2 separate regions of the Homo sapiens genome follow, and region 1 is linked to region 2. The links are contacts of gene promoters, found by promoter capture Hi-C in blood cells and fetal thymus (Javierre and others, 2016). All regions are on one chromosome and are shown on one strand. The core of a region is centred on a gene start or on the middle of the fragment in contact, and the rest is flanking DNA. Distances in the headings are between cores, read along the strand shown. Region 1 holds the start of AJUBA-DT (AJUBA divergent transcript). Region 2 holds the start of BCL2L2 (BCL2 like 2).

Region 1 (6,780 bases), core at 172-2,671, 320 kb after region 2:
TCAGTCATGAGCTTGAGTCTTCTGACCAAGGGAACACAAGTTCTATCACTATTGGGGAATTGGGTTCCTGATATAATAGCTATTGTTTATTGAATTACATGAGGAAAATTTTACTATTCCTATCTTACAGATGAGGAAATTAAGGCTTAAAGAGTTCCCGTGTCTCACCGGCAGCCTCTCTCTCACTATGTGACCAAGCAAAATACACAGCTTTGTAGCTGTTTCTTGGTCCTGTCAGCCAAGCTGTATTTTGAGGAAGGGGTGTGCATTTTGGATGGATTGAAAAGCAAAAATGGCTTTACATTTATTCAGTCTTATAACAAACATTGATCGCTTTACTAGGTGTCAGGTACTGTGCTATGGATACATTGTTGATAAGGTTGGATGCTGTTCAGAGATTTTTTTAGTTTAGTCAGGAAGCCAGGCAGTGGAGTAGGCAATGAAATGAACTGTGATAAGGGTGACCATGGTGGAGTGTAGTGCACTATGGCAATATACAGCAGGGGTAGCTAACCTACTCTTGCAGTCTGGAAAGGCTTCTTCTGAGAGGGTGTAATGTCTAAACTGGGGAAGAGTTAACCAGAAGGAAAGGGGAGGCTAAGAGAGTGTTCCAAACAGGGAACTGCAGGTACAAAAGTCCAGGGGCAAGAGAGAGTACAGACAAGGTCCAGTTCTACTGCAGACTTTTGGGGAAGGGATAATGCTAGAGGAGAGGCTGGAGAGTGAGACAGACCTCATAATACAGAGTACAGACTTCAACCCAAGGGCAGTGAGAAATCATTGAAAGTTTGTTTTAGCAGGGAAATAAAACGACAGGTTTTGCCTACAGGCAGTCCCCAACTCAACGATGGTTCGACTTAGGATTTTTCAACTTTACGATGGTGCGAAATGATTCAGTATGCTCCTCACCTTATGATGCAGTTATATCAGATAAACCCATTTTAAGCTGAAAATATGGTGAAGTTGAAGAAGCACTTCTGCCTTACGATATTTTCAATTTATAATGGATGGGTTTATTCAGACATAACTCCATTGTAAGTCGTAAAGCTTCTGTACTGAAAAAAATCACTTGACCTCAGGGTATAAGATGGATTGCAGGGAGCAAGCCTTGGCCAGGAGACTTTTGCATTGGTTTCGGAGAGGAAAGACGGTGACTTGACATATATAGTGGTGATGAGGGGAGGACAGATTTGGAAGATGTTTAGGAAGCAGAATTAATAGAACTTGGTGATTGATAGGACTTGGTTGGATTTGAGGTTAAGGGAGAAGGAGGACATAGGGTTGACGCTCAGATTTCTAGTTTAAGCAGCTAACAGGATTGTGCCATTTACTCAGAGAATGTTAGAGGAGCCAGTTTCATGAGGCAGAGAAGATGAGATCAGTTTAGGATATTGGGTGCTTCTGAGACAGCCATTGGAGATGCTAGTAGTTAGTTGAGTTTTTAATTCCAAGAAAGACTGGGCTGGAAATATGGATTAGGGAGTCACCTGCATATACAGATTATAATTAAAGTCTTGGGAACGAAGAGGGCCTTTGGAGATCCCAGCTCCAGTTTAGACTGTGGAGAGGCCACCTGAGGTCATGAGCACTATTGGAGCATGCCCTATTAGCATATGCGTCTTCTACTTCTTCCCCTTCACTCATCTCTGCTTCCAGTTATCCCTTGAAAACACAGGCTGTTCATCCCAGTTGTGCCCATTGCTACCACCAACTCTTGCATGGGCCTCCTTTAATGGCCTCCCAACATTTCATAAGATTTCCTCTCGCATCCTCACCCCAAAGGATCAAAGCTTCCAAATATTAGTAGTTGTGTGGATATTTTGGATGTAATTGGAAGGAAGAATCAAAGTTCTCCTTCCTCATCTGGACACAGGAAAGGAGGGAACACATTATGGTTAATTCTGAAGATGTTGCTCACAGCAGGTTCTAGATGCAATCCGATAGCTCCCCTCTGTTCCTAGTGCTTTCAGTCCTCCCTGCTTCCACTCTGGTAGGAAACTCTCCTCAGGATCAGAGAAAAGCCGTGGCCTTGACCAGGGAAACAGAGGCTGATTCTCAGGGGAGATGAGGTCAGGGAGACAATGCAACTAGGACGAAGAAGCCAAATAGTTTGGCACAAATTAATTTCCCAAAAGATATTAACCTCGTTTCTTTCCACATTCCCTAAGGCTACACTAAGATTATAAAAGGTGTTCAAAATGTTGAGATGAAAATAATATGCATGACTTGTTTGCATATAATTTTCATACTCATTTACTATCTAAATACAAAGGAGTCATTTTCCTTCTCCATTCTACTTCCTCCACCCCTTGCCCCTGATGTTTTAGTCTGGGCAAAAGTAGTTGGCTGGTTTTTAAAAAATTTTTTTGAGACGGAATCTCCCTCTATCGCCCAGGCCTGAGTGCAATGGCACAATCTCGGCTCTCTGCAACCTCCGCCTCCTGGGTTCACGCGATTCTTCTGCCTCAGCCTCCCAAGTAGCTGGGACTACAGGTGCACGCCACCACACCGGCTAATTTTTGTATTCTTAGTAGAGACGGGGTTTCACCATACTGGCCAGGCTGGTTGCAAACTCCTGACCTCGTGATCCCGCCGCCTCTGCCTTCCAAAGTGCTGGGATTACAGGCGTGAGCCACCGCTCCCGGCCGTTGGCTGGTATTTAATTAGGTATGTTTAGCTTCATCTAGGGTTTCTTTAAAAAAAATTATTATTTATTTTTGAGAATTTTTTTGAGACGGAGTCTTGCTCTGTCGCCCAGGCTGGAGTGCAGTGGCCGTGATATTGGCTCACTGCAACCTCTGTCTCCCGGGTTCAAGCGATTCTCCCGCCTCAGCCTCTCGAGTGGCTGGGACTATAGGCGTGCGCCACCACGCCTGGCTAATTTTTGTATTTTTAGTAGAGATAGGGCTTCACCATGTTGGCCAGGCTGGTCTGAACTCTTGACTTCAAGTGATCCGCCCGCCTCAGCCTCCCAAAGTGGTGGGATTACAGGCGTGAGCCACCGCGCCCGGCTGCTTCAGCCAGGGTTTCTTTTCCTTATTCTTGATCCTTTTAAAATAGTCAATATCAGCCTCTTTTCCATCCTGATCATTTTCATTTGCAATTTCCTCTACACGGCATTTCTTTTCTTCCTCTTAATACTTACTCTGTATCACCAGTCTTCTGTGGACCAAAACCAAAGGGAGAAGGTGTTCGCTAGCCCTAAAACCAGGCCTTCGATCTCCACAGTCACCTGAAATGAGAAAAATCTCATTTCCCAACACCAGGGGGTGTCTATCCCTCTAACTGTCCTACCCTTAAGGTAGAGATTAGTCCCAAACCTTTTCCTCACTCCTTTTCACTGCTTCTACATACACACTATATCTCTTTCCCTCCCTCTCAAAGTAGAGATTAGTCCCATTTTCCTGACTCCTTTTCACTGCTTTTACAAATCACAAAACTTTTGGGTCCAGAAGGTGGTGCCTTTTTATTGCAGTTTATCTGTTTGTCTCTCATTCTCTCTGGACAAGCTTGTCCTTTCCTTTGTCTGCGCACCCTTCGGTCTCTGCATCGTCCACACTCCTCTTTGCTCCTCAGCTCTCCCTTTCTTTCGCTACCTCTTCCCTCTTCCACCTCTCTCTGTGGGCTTCGTCGCCTTTCAGGGCTATCTTTACGTACACGTCTCTGAACCTCTTTATGCATTTGTCTTCTTTCTCTCTGTCTTCCTCTTTATGGCTCTCTCCTTGTCTCACCATTTCTGTACCAGTCTCTCTCCATCTCTCCCACAGTCCCCACGCTGGGAACAAAGTCACGGTGCTAGCGCAGAACATGCCTCCTGTCGTCCGGTCCCGGGACGCGACACATTCCACCATGCCCCTCCGCGCATTCCAACTGCAGACAAAGAGTCCCCGTCCCCTACCCCCACACTCTTTCCTATTCCAATTCTTCAGTGTTGTAGGGGCAGCTGCCCCAACTGCCCCTGCCCGCCTCTCACGTCCAGTCCGCGGGTCTCCACATCCAGGGCAGTTAGCGCCTTCCGCTGCACGCACACCAGCTATCCCTGCGCGGACACCCCCGGCGCTCTCGCACACACCGCGCTCCGCCCCCCTAGGAAAGTAGATCCGGCCAGGCAGACAAAAGTTTGGGAGAGAAGTTCGGTCTGTGGCTAGCGTGAGAGCTAGGGGGGCGGGGGCCGGGGAGAGTGGGGCAGTCGGGCGAGTCGACGCGTGAACAGATAGACCTGCGGACTGGACAGCCGCGGCCAGAGACCCTGCTAGCCCCGCTCAGCCCCAGATGCGCGGGGGGACGCAGCCCCTCCCGCTGGGGGATGCTGTGGGATTCCTGGCGCAGGGCATCCAGGCCGCCCGCTAAGCCCCTGTGCCTCCCCTGTGCCCCTGGGGAACCAGAGTCCGGCTGCAGGGAAAGAGAACCGGCCGCCGAGACGCCGCAGGGTGCCAGGCGGGGAGGGGGCGAGAGGCCCCAGGCCCGAGGGCATGGAGCGGTTAGGAGAGAAAGCCAGTCGCCTGCTGGAGAAGTTCGGCCGCAGAAAGGGTGAATCTAGCCGGTCTGGGTCTGACGGGACCCCCGGGCCGGGCAAGGGGCGCCTAAGTGGGTTGGGGGGACCTAGGAAGTCAGGGCCCCGAGGAGCTACTGGGGGACCTGGGGATGAGCCGTTGGAGCCGGCCCGGGAGCAAGGTTCCCTGGACGCTGAGCGAAATCAGCGCGGCTCCTTTGAGGCGCCGCGCTACGAAGGCTCTTTTCCCGCGGGGCCGCCGCCCACCCGGGCCTTGCCTCTACCTCAGTCGTTGCCCCCCGATTTTCGGCTGGAGCCCACGGCCCCGGCCCTCAGCCCCCGCTCTAGCTTCGCCAGTAGCTCGGCCAGCGACGCGAGCAAGCCGTCCAGCCCCCGGGGCAGCCTGCTGCTGGACGGGGCGGGGGCTGGCGGAGCTGGAGGTAGCCGGCCCTGCAGCAATCGCACCAGCGGCATCAGCATGGGCTACGACCAGCGCCACGGGAGCCCCTTGCCAGCGGGGCCGTGCCTGTTTGGCCCACCCCTGGCCGGAGCACCGGCAGGCTATTCTCCCGGAGGGGTCCCGTCCGCCTACCCGGAGCTCCACGCCGCCCTGGACCGATTGTACGCTCAGCGGCCCGCGGGGTTCGGCTGCCAGGAAAGCCGCCACTCGTATCCCCCGGCCCTGGGCAGCCCTGGAGCTCTAGCCGGGGCCGGAGTGGGAGCGGCGGGGCCCTTGGAGAGACGGGGGGCGCAACCCGGACGACACTCTGTGACCGGCTACGGGGACTGCGCCGTGGGCGCCCGGTACCAGGACGAGCTAACAGCTTTGCTTCGCCTGACGGTGGGCACCGGTGGGCGAGAAGCCGGAGCCCGCGGAGAACCCTCGGGGATTGAGCCGTCGGGTCTGGAGGAGCCACCAGGTCCTTTCGTTCCGGAGGCCGCCCGGGCCCGGATGCGGGAGCCAGAGGCCAGGGAGGACTACTTCGGTGAGTGAGAGAAGTGGTTAGGGACGGGAAGGGACCCGTCACGGTATTCGGTTCTCCACTGCCCCGACGGCCCAAAGTGCCGGTGCCCCGGGGTCCGAGGTGAAGACGCGGGACTAGGAAAGAAGCAAGAGGGATGGATGGGGGCGGCCCCAGAGCACTGTCCCCTTCCTGCTAGTTTTCAGATGAACCAGGGCTCCTTATTTCTGCTAAATTCAACCCCCCTGGTATCTCGTGAGTCCGTTTCTCAAGCATTTGAACCTCGGTTTTTTGCGGCAGGAGGCCTCGTAGGGAAGGGACCAAGTGGGGCAGTGAAGGCGCATCCCCCCCAACTTGCTCCCCCCTTTCACGGCGGTGCCCCTGGAGGTTTGTGCGCGCCGCGCCCCCACCCGGGCCCAGGCTCCGCCCGCAGGAATTCGGAGAATGCGCGGGTGGGGGGGCGGGGCAGGCTGGCCGCGTGCGTGCCGACTCCTGCCCGGGCGCTCCAGGTGCCCGCGGGCGGGGCGGCTGCCGCCGCGCGGCGGAGGGGTGGGGTTCGGGGATCGGGGGACGCTCCCTAGCATACGCGGAGTAGTGGCGGCTGTCGGGGAAATGGAGCCTGGGAGACAGGATGGAGCGCCCTGGGACCCAACTGCTGTCCCTCCCCAGTCCTGTTGGCTAGGTGCGTGCGTGGGCATTTAATCAGAGACCCAGTAGTACCAGCTTCTATTTTCCCCATCCTCCGGAAGTCAGGGTAAAAGTCATGACTACTGGGACACCATTACCTCTGGATGGATAACGACCCTGTGTTATTGCCAGAAATAACTTGGCCTTGAATTCTGCTTATAACCTCTCAGAATTCAGGCCAGAAGTAGCGCCTTACTTCCTGACACTGTTAAGGAAACCTGGTCGCTGTCTCCCTCCCCTACTCTGTTCAGGAAGTATTGATTGATTATATGTCTCAGCTATGAGGAACATTAGGGTCTTGAAAGATCTTTTAGTCAAAATTCACAGGCACTGCTACACACATAAAAAACTTCGAATCTGATTGTGATTGGAAAGAAGTGGCAGGCTTACCGCCTAAGGGCTGTGGGCCTCTTTCACTTTTCTAAGCATCTCTTCTTACCACTCATGCCCCACTCCTGGACCCCATGCTGTAGAACTCTATGGCTAGAAAAGTGAATAGGAAGAGGAACGCGGCCAGGGAGGGATGGTTGGGTAGGAGGTTCAGAGGTAGCAGGGCGGCAGGCTATAAGGGCATAACTCAACCCCCAGCCTCCACCCCCATTCTTTTCCCCACCTCCAAATCCACCGAGAGGAAAGCCC
Region 2 (7,244 bases), core at 4,125-6,624:
TTAGAGGTGTGAGCCACCGCACCTGGCCCAGACCTATTTTTAAGTCTGAGGTAGGCAGGAAGGCACCATGGAGAAATGTTCATTATTATCACACACTTCTGATTAGAGCCTGAACCACAACTGGGGGCTTGATTACTATCACACAAAGATTTTTGGTAGGTTTTCTTTGTTTCTCATTTGGTTATTGTTAGTGGCAGTCCCAGAGTACCATATACACACACCCTCCCAAGGCTCAGGTTGAAATAGAAGGAATTCTTGGCTTTGACCATTTGGCTGGTATAGGAGTGGGGTGAGGATGGGGGAAAGACTCTTTTTTTCTTAATGATCCCAACACTTTCTCAAATCCCTGTTATTCTAATTCTTGCCTTTAACAAGGTCATGAAGAGATGATTGGATCAAGGAAATGTCCTGACCCCAGGCTATACAGTGTAGAAGTCACAAACCCTGTTCAGTCCTTCTCATTAAACTTCTGGGCTTTATTTATTGTTTTTAATACGATCATTACATATTACACAAAAATAAAAGTCAAATGAACTTGGTATTTATAAATTATTAAATAAAAATACAGGAATATAGATTTATATTTATAGAGCTTTCTTTTCTTCTAAACTAACCAAATCTGTTCTGCCGTTTTATGATTTTAAAAAAGTAAAATAGTGTTTGTGTGCCCTAGAATAAGTGGGGAGTGGGATTAATAATCGCAGGACCGAGTTGCCCTACTTCCGCTCCTTCCTTGGCCTAAACAAAGTCCCTATTTGTCCCTTTGGGCTCTGGAGAGCAAGAAACCCCTCTCCTCCTACTTAATCTTTGAAAAATGGCAATTACATTTATTTCCCTTATTTTTTAAAAAATGAAATGGATTTAAAAATTGGGAACCATACTCAGCCTTCTTGGCCAAGAGCTAATCCCAAGGAACTATATGGCTCTAGAAGAGAGTCCCTAGTTTTCCCTGACAGAAGAGTCTCTGGGGTTTCCCTTCAAGCTAAGAAGGGCAGGACAGGTCAAAATTGCCCACTGTGGTCCCATCTAAGCTATGCTTCTGGGAATCCAGACCAAGCCCTTTACCCTTTCAGAAAACAGCCTCTCTTTCCACCCAGGTGTCAAGGCTTCAGAGCAGGGCATTTTGGTAACCTGGCCATGGTCCCTGCAGCTCCTCTTGGCTAAAGGTCCCGGGGAATGCTAACAGGGATATGTGTCCTGTGGTAGAGGGTAGGGTGAAGAGTGTGCTCCATACCTGGGGAAGGAAGCACAGACTCCAATTTGGAGCCGATGGTCTAGTCAGTGGTTTTCCAACTTTTTTTCAGCAGCAAACCCCTTAATGCAAATAAAATCTTACCCTGAACCCCAATATGTAAGACAGCTACAAGGGGAGCTGTTCTGTTTGAGGGCAAATTGCCCAGCCTGCTCAGCTCCCCACCCCCTTCATCTCCCCAAGGACTCCTGAGGCAACCCCTAGGAAACTTCAGGGCTCTGCCAAGCAGTTTGAAAACCACTGGCCTAGTTTGTCCTGAGCAAGTCAGAGACCCCCCACCCCAACTGCTTGCCACAAGCTGGCTCTGAGTTTCTGGTGTCAGCATACTCACAACAAGACCAAGTGGCACATGCAGCCTACCACCTCCCCTAGAAATACCATGAAAAAGTGCAGCCCTCTCTCAAAAGCAGAAGTCTGGACTCAACACCTGAGGCCAATTTGGTCCCACGTTCTGGCGAGCACAACTACGTTGCCACATTCTAGGACCAAGTGAAAATCTCCAAGAAGAGTCAACCATGGTCTAGCTAAGGTGATCAGTGCTCAGGACCACAGGCAGGGTTCTAGAGCACTGTGTCAGAAAGTTAGCATTGGAGAGCAGCAATCTTAGCACCTTGGAAAGTGCAGCAGTGAGGTCTGGCTCAGGGCATGCATCTGGAGTGAATAATTTCTTCCTCAAAAGAAAAAGCCATAATCTGAAGCTGTTCTAGAGGACTGCGAGTTCCAAAGTTAACATCCTCAGACTCTGAGGTACAGACAAGTAACACCCATGCAAACAGTGTGGCTTCAAATAAATCATAAATGCTTCTAGGTCATGGTAGGTACTCTAGAACCCATATGCCTGGCCCCTGATAAAGCCGAACCAAAGCCCACAACACAGCATAGGCCAGTCCTGGAGTACCCATCACCCTCACACCCATGGGATTCAGATCTGAAATGGTCATCTCAAGGCATCAACAGTCTCACTGAGACACAGTGTGGGACCCAGACTGTATTCTAGATCAGCACTTATGCCCACAACCTCAAAAGGAAAATTAGTTAGGGCCCCAATTTAGAGTTTCAGTTTGGGTACAGAGGTCCCAGAGATTGGAAACACTTTAGGCACCATTGTGCCTGAGTGGGAGAGGAGGGTGGCAGGCAGGTCCGGCTACCTAAGCCTCCACCCATCCAGGCTCAACAGCCCTGCCCTTCTATCAGAGCCCAGGAGGCAGCAGCAAGTGCATAATGCACAAGGAAGGGGGATGATGAAGGAACAAGGCCAGCTGCAGAACTGCTCTTCTCTCCAAAGCCTTGCCAATCACTTTCTGGAAAGAAGCAGCAGAGCCCTCGGTCTGGATACAATGTTTCTCTCTAAGCCTTGAGGCATCAGGACAAGGGCAGGGGAAAGGAGGGGTTGGGAGGAGGGACAGAGAACTGCCCCTAGTTCTTGCCATTGCAAGAGGGAATGTTTTCTCCTTGAGGAATCCCATCACCACCAGATTTGCCAGGCAGCCCAGCATGCACACCAGCATGCGTGCACATGCACACGCGTGTCCAAGCAGCCCACTGTTAACAGCCACCTCTCCCTATCACCTGAGAACCCCTAAGCTTCCATTCCAAAGGGATGTGCCTTCTGCGTTCCCTAAATCCCACTCATCTAATGGAATACAGCTGCTTATGTAAGTCCACCTTCCTCAGGGCTGTGAAGCAAGTTCCAGGTCGTTTCATGTGCCCACACCTATAGGCGTGATCCCTCCCACCTCCCCCAGCCCTGGAACGACTACATCTCCTGTGCCCCTAAACTTGCCAAAACATTCCCCTCCCCTCTGTGTCCTGCTCACTCTTCCAATCGCCTACCTGGCCTACTCAGCTCCCTCACACACTACCCTTTCTCTGCCCATCCTGTTCCATGCCCACCCATCCACCAACTCCACTTCTTCCAAGGGCATTTCTCTGTTCTGTTCCTGCTCTCCTGGCCCCCAGCCACACCTAGCCCCACCTGGCCCTGGACTTTCACTTGCTAGCAAAAAAGGCCCCTACAGTTACCAGGGCCCCCAGTGCCACGGCCCCCGTCAGCACTGTCCTCACTGATGCCCAGTTCCCCTCCCGCAGACGCCGCGCCTCCTCCAGGGCCCCGTCCCCGTATAGAGCTGTGAACTCCGCCTGTGGGAGAGAAGGGAAGCAGGAGAGAAAGAAGGAGAAAGGGATATCAGGAGAGGAAAGAGTGGAGAGAAGAGGAGAGGAAGAGTTCCAGTTCCATCCACTGCGAGCACTACCCCATACCCAGCTCCTCTCTGGCCAAAGCTCTTCTCCCTGCAAGCCCCTCTGATCCCCCCAGGTGCACCCCCACCCTGAGAGACTGGTTCATCTGCCCACTCTGCCTCCAGTGAATTCCATCCTTTCCTTGGCGAAAAATTCTGCTCAGAACTAGCATCCTTTGCCAAGGCTTGCCTGACCACCACCCATCCCTGGTCCTCCCCACCTCCCACGCCATGACTCAGATGTAAAAAGTCCCTGACAACATTCCCCTGCAGGCACTCCTTGGGTGTGTATTCTGTCCTCTGCTTGGGACCATGAGCCCATCCAGTGTTGACTGCATGGCAGCCCTGGAGTGCAGAGTCCAGGCATCTCTCAATCTAATTCCATCCAGACGGGGAGACTCAGCCCCGTACCTCATTCCCAACATAGCTGCCTCAGCCTCCAATCAGAGCCCCCATCTTCCCCCTGGAGACCAGCTTTGCAGAAGGATGTGCAGAGCGGCAATTGAGAAGCTTCTTACCCAGCCCCCACTGCTGTGGATCCAGTCAGCCAGCTGCGTCTCCAGGTAGGCCACCATCCACTCCTGCACTTGTCCCACCAGTGGTTCCATCTCCTTGTTGACACTCTCAGCACACAGTGCAGCCCCAAAGACAAAGAAGGCTACAAGGCGGCCCCAGTTGGGGCCCCCTTGAAAAAGTTCATCGGAGACCTGGGTGAAGCGTTGTTGGGCTGAGCCTGGGGTCACATGCAGCTGAGCCGCCAGATCAGAGAAGGTGCGCCGGAAGCGGGTCTCGAACTCATCTCCAGCTGCCCGCATGGCTTGGTGCAGCGGGTCAGCTGCTGGGCCCTCCCCGGGGCCAGCTCCACAGACATAACCCTTCTGCCTCAGCTTATAACCTACAAAGTCTGCCACCAGAGCCCGTGTGTCTGGGGCCGAGGCTGGGGTCGCCATCCGGGCGGCTATAAGAGGCAAGGATGAAAGACTGGCATGAATATATGAAGAGAGAATCAGAAGGAGCACTTCTGGTTTGACCAACCCAGTGAGATGAGGAGGAGAGAGGAAATGCTCAGGACTCACTGGACAGGGAGAGGCAAGAACAAGGGAATTAAGTCATGATATGAGACTAGGCTGTGAGTGGCTGGCCATTACATTCCTAATATGCCAAATTAAATGTAAAACAAGTAAATTTTCTGTTTAGGATACTTTAGATTCTTTTCACAATAAGACAACGTCAGCTCAATGACACCCCTACAACACCCCCACCCCCGGGTCTCCTTAGTCCACACCTTCTTGGCTAGAGGAAGGGTCTTAGGACCTCCCCAAATGCAAGATGTAAAGATGTTGGCAGAGACACAAGATGAGGGGGAGCAGATGGGCTGAAGAGAAAGGTGGGAGACGCAATGGGTTACTCCAGACAGAGAAAGGAAGGAGACACTCACCCAGCCGGGATGGCAGCTCTTAAGACACAGCACTGGTGGCAAGGAGCCCCCAGCTGGGGCCTTTCATCCTCCTGGCCAGCGTGGAGCCCTGGAAAGGGGAGGGGGAGATCAGAACCAGGAGGGGAAGGCCAGGGATCAGGTTCTGGCCTGGGAAGGGCTAGGGTTGCAGCTCTGGGCCTAGGCCCCTGCCCCCAACGCTCTACCAGCTGTGTGGCCGAATCCATGTTTAATGACTGTCCTCCCGGGAAACCCAAGGCCAAGGGCTTCCTGCCGACACCATCTCTATTCCCGGTTCCCCCTAGTGCAGCCCAAAGGCCCAGCTCCTCCCTTACCCCCACCTCAGCCAGTCTCCAACCCCGCCCGCCTGCCAGGTTAGGGATCTCACGGGTCAGGCCGCTGCCGGGATCCGGGCCGTTTCCTGGTGCAGGAGCTGGGAGGGAGGGAGAGAGGGAGGAAGGGAGGGAAGGAAGGAGGGAGGAGAAAGGGGGGGGCAGAGGGAGGGCCCGGCGCCGGGTGATGATGGGGCCCAGAGATGCGTCCAGAGAGAGGGGCGGGGCTGGGACGCAGGCCTGCAAAGGGCCACTACTCAGGAAGAGGGAGGGCTGCTGAAGGCAAAGAAGGGCTGGCTGAGAGGGCACGGTGGGCTGGGCTGGGCTGGGCTCCTGAGCCTCTAGGCTGCCCAGAGAAATATGCCGGACTTCGGGACATCTCGGGGCAAATTTAGCATTTTCAGGAGGTTTCCGATGTTCCATGCACTTGTTGAACTTTTCCAGCCCTGAACTGTGTGCCTGGAAAACAGGAGCAGTTCCCATTAAGCTGGGAACCGTCTACCAGGTGCCTTACCCTTATGGGGCTAGCAGACACCACATAGACACCAAACCTTTCCCATCTTTTCTCCAGGACCTTTAACCCAGTGTTCTCTTTGTGGGCTGGGCTTCAGCCAGGCATTAGGGAGCCAGGACTTGGATCACAAGCAGTTTCTCTCGGTACTTTTCTTTAATTCATCTTCTTTTGTAATTAGATTGATTTTAGTGGGGTTTTTTTCTTTTTCTTTTTTTTACCCAACACACAAACTCATTCTCATTATGAAAAAAATCAAACAATAAAGACGTGCGGAGTAATAAAATACAGGTTCTCAAACACACACACACATACACACCCAATTCCACTTCCCTCCCTGCAGGTTGCCAGTGTTAAGCTTGATGTTTATCCTTCCAGATTACATATATATGGGGCCATTATTTATACATGGCAGTATATTTATACAGGGCAGGTCACAGGCGTGAAGCAGTCTGACCATAGCTGATCCACATGAGGGCACTCACAGCCAGCCCCCTGGGCTCTTGGATCTGGCACTTTTTTAAAGAGTGCCCCAACCAAAGGCCAGAAAGAGGCAACCTAATTCTCCTATTCTGCTAGCTCCCTTTGCTTCTACCTCCAATCCAAGCCTCTGTATTACCATCTTCCCTTATGGTCACTGGAGAAGCAAGGTCTTTTCTGCAGCAATAACAGTAACAACTAGCTGGGTTCGGTGGCTCATACCTGTAATCCCAACACTTTGGGAGGCCAAGGCGGGTGGATCACTTGAGGCCAGGAGTTCGAGACCAGCCTGACCAACATGGCAAAACCCCATCTCTACTAAAAATACAAAAATTAGCCAGACGTAAAATACAAAAATTAGCCAGCCTGTAATCCCAGCTGCTCAGGAGGCTGAGGCATGAGAATCACTTGAACCCAGGAGGCTGAGATCATGCCACTGCACTCCAGACTGGGTGATAGAACGAGACTCTATCTCAAAAAAAAAAAAAGGTAAAAACTAACATATTTTGAGGAGTTATTAGATGCTGTGCTTTTTTTACATGTGTATTTTTTCCTCTCACCAGTCCTTATGCTGTTTTATCCTCATTCTATGAATGAGGAAATTGAGGTTTGGAGAGGTTAAGTGATTTTCCCAAAGCCATAGGCTGATATGTAAGAAGCTAGCACAGCCATCTCATGCTGTAACTTTGACACTATCGCTTCAAGATCACCTCTTGCCTTCACATAGTCAATATGGTTCTCATAGTCTGAATCCACACCATTTACAAGTCCATACTCAATTCTCTCCTCTATTCTAAACACACAGCCTATTACACTCCTTTATGGCTGTATCCTTTCAACCATCCTCATTTCATTTTTGCTCTTAGCCTGATCATTCTGGCTGCCACCAGCAAGGTTGCCCTCTTCTTTAGAGAATAACCTAGTCCAAGTCTTCATTTGCACTCCTGGTTTATTTGTTTGTTTGTGATACAAGGTTCTCACTCCATGGCCTAAACTG

The links. Contacts are between HindIII fragments. The CHiCAGO score rates a contact against its expected background, and 5 or more counts as called.
Region 1: a fragment that was not itself captured here is called in contact with the fragment with the promoter of BCL2L2 in region 2 in 1 of 17 cell types (neutrophils); the score reaches 5.5 in neutrophils.

Annotation. Positions count from the first base shown.
Region 1 is chr14:22,979,959-22,986,738 of GRCh38, reverse strand. C14orf93 (chromosome 14 open reading frame 93) reads left to right here. Exons shown (of 7, transcript NM_021944.4): 7 at 1-845. It overlaps AJUBA-DT (AJUBA divergent transcript), which reads right to left and starts at 2,415. Exons shown (of 3, transcript XR_007064074.1): 1 at 1,919-2,415. AJUBA (ajuba LIM protein) reads left to right here and starts at 4,188. Exons shown (of 8, transcript NM_032876.6): 1 at 4,188-5,478. The coding sequence starts at 4,473. RefSeq lists a silencer at 1-8 and enhancers at 3,208-4,173, 4,174-5,139. The HindIII fragment of the contact is 743 bases long and covers 1,050-1,792 here.
Region 2 is chr14:23,304,963-23,312,206 of GRCh38, reverse strand. It overlaps BCL2L2 (BCL2 like 2), which reads right to left and starts at 5,374. Exons shown (of 4, transcript NM_004050.5): 1 at 5,313-5,374; 2 at 4,928-5,015; 3 at 4,008-4,447; 4 at 456-3,391. The coding sequence starts at 4,439. The coding sequence ends at 3,242. BCL2L2-PABPN1 (BCL2L2-PABPN1 readthrough) reads right to left here and starts at 5,374. Exons shown (of 8, transcript NM_001387346.1): 1 at 5,313-5,374; 2 at 4,928-5,015; 3 at 4,008-4,447. The coding sequence starts at 4,439. RefSeq lists an enhancer at 3,682-4,515. The HindIII fragment of the contact is 2,126 bases long and covers 4,002-6,127 here.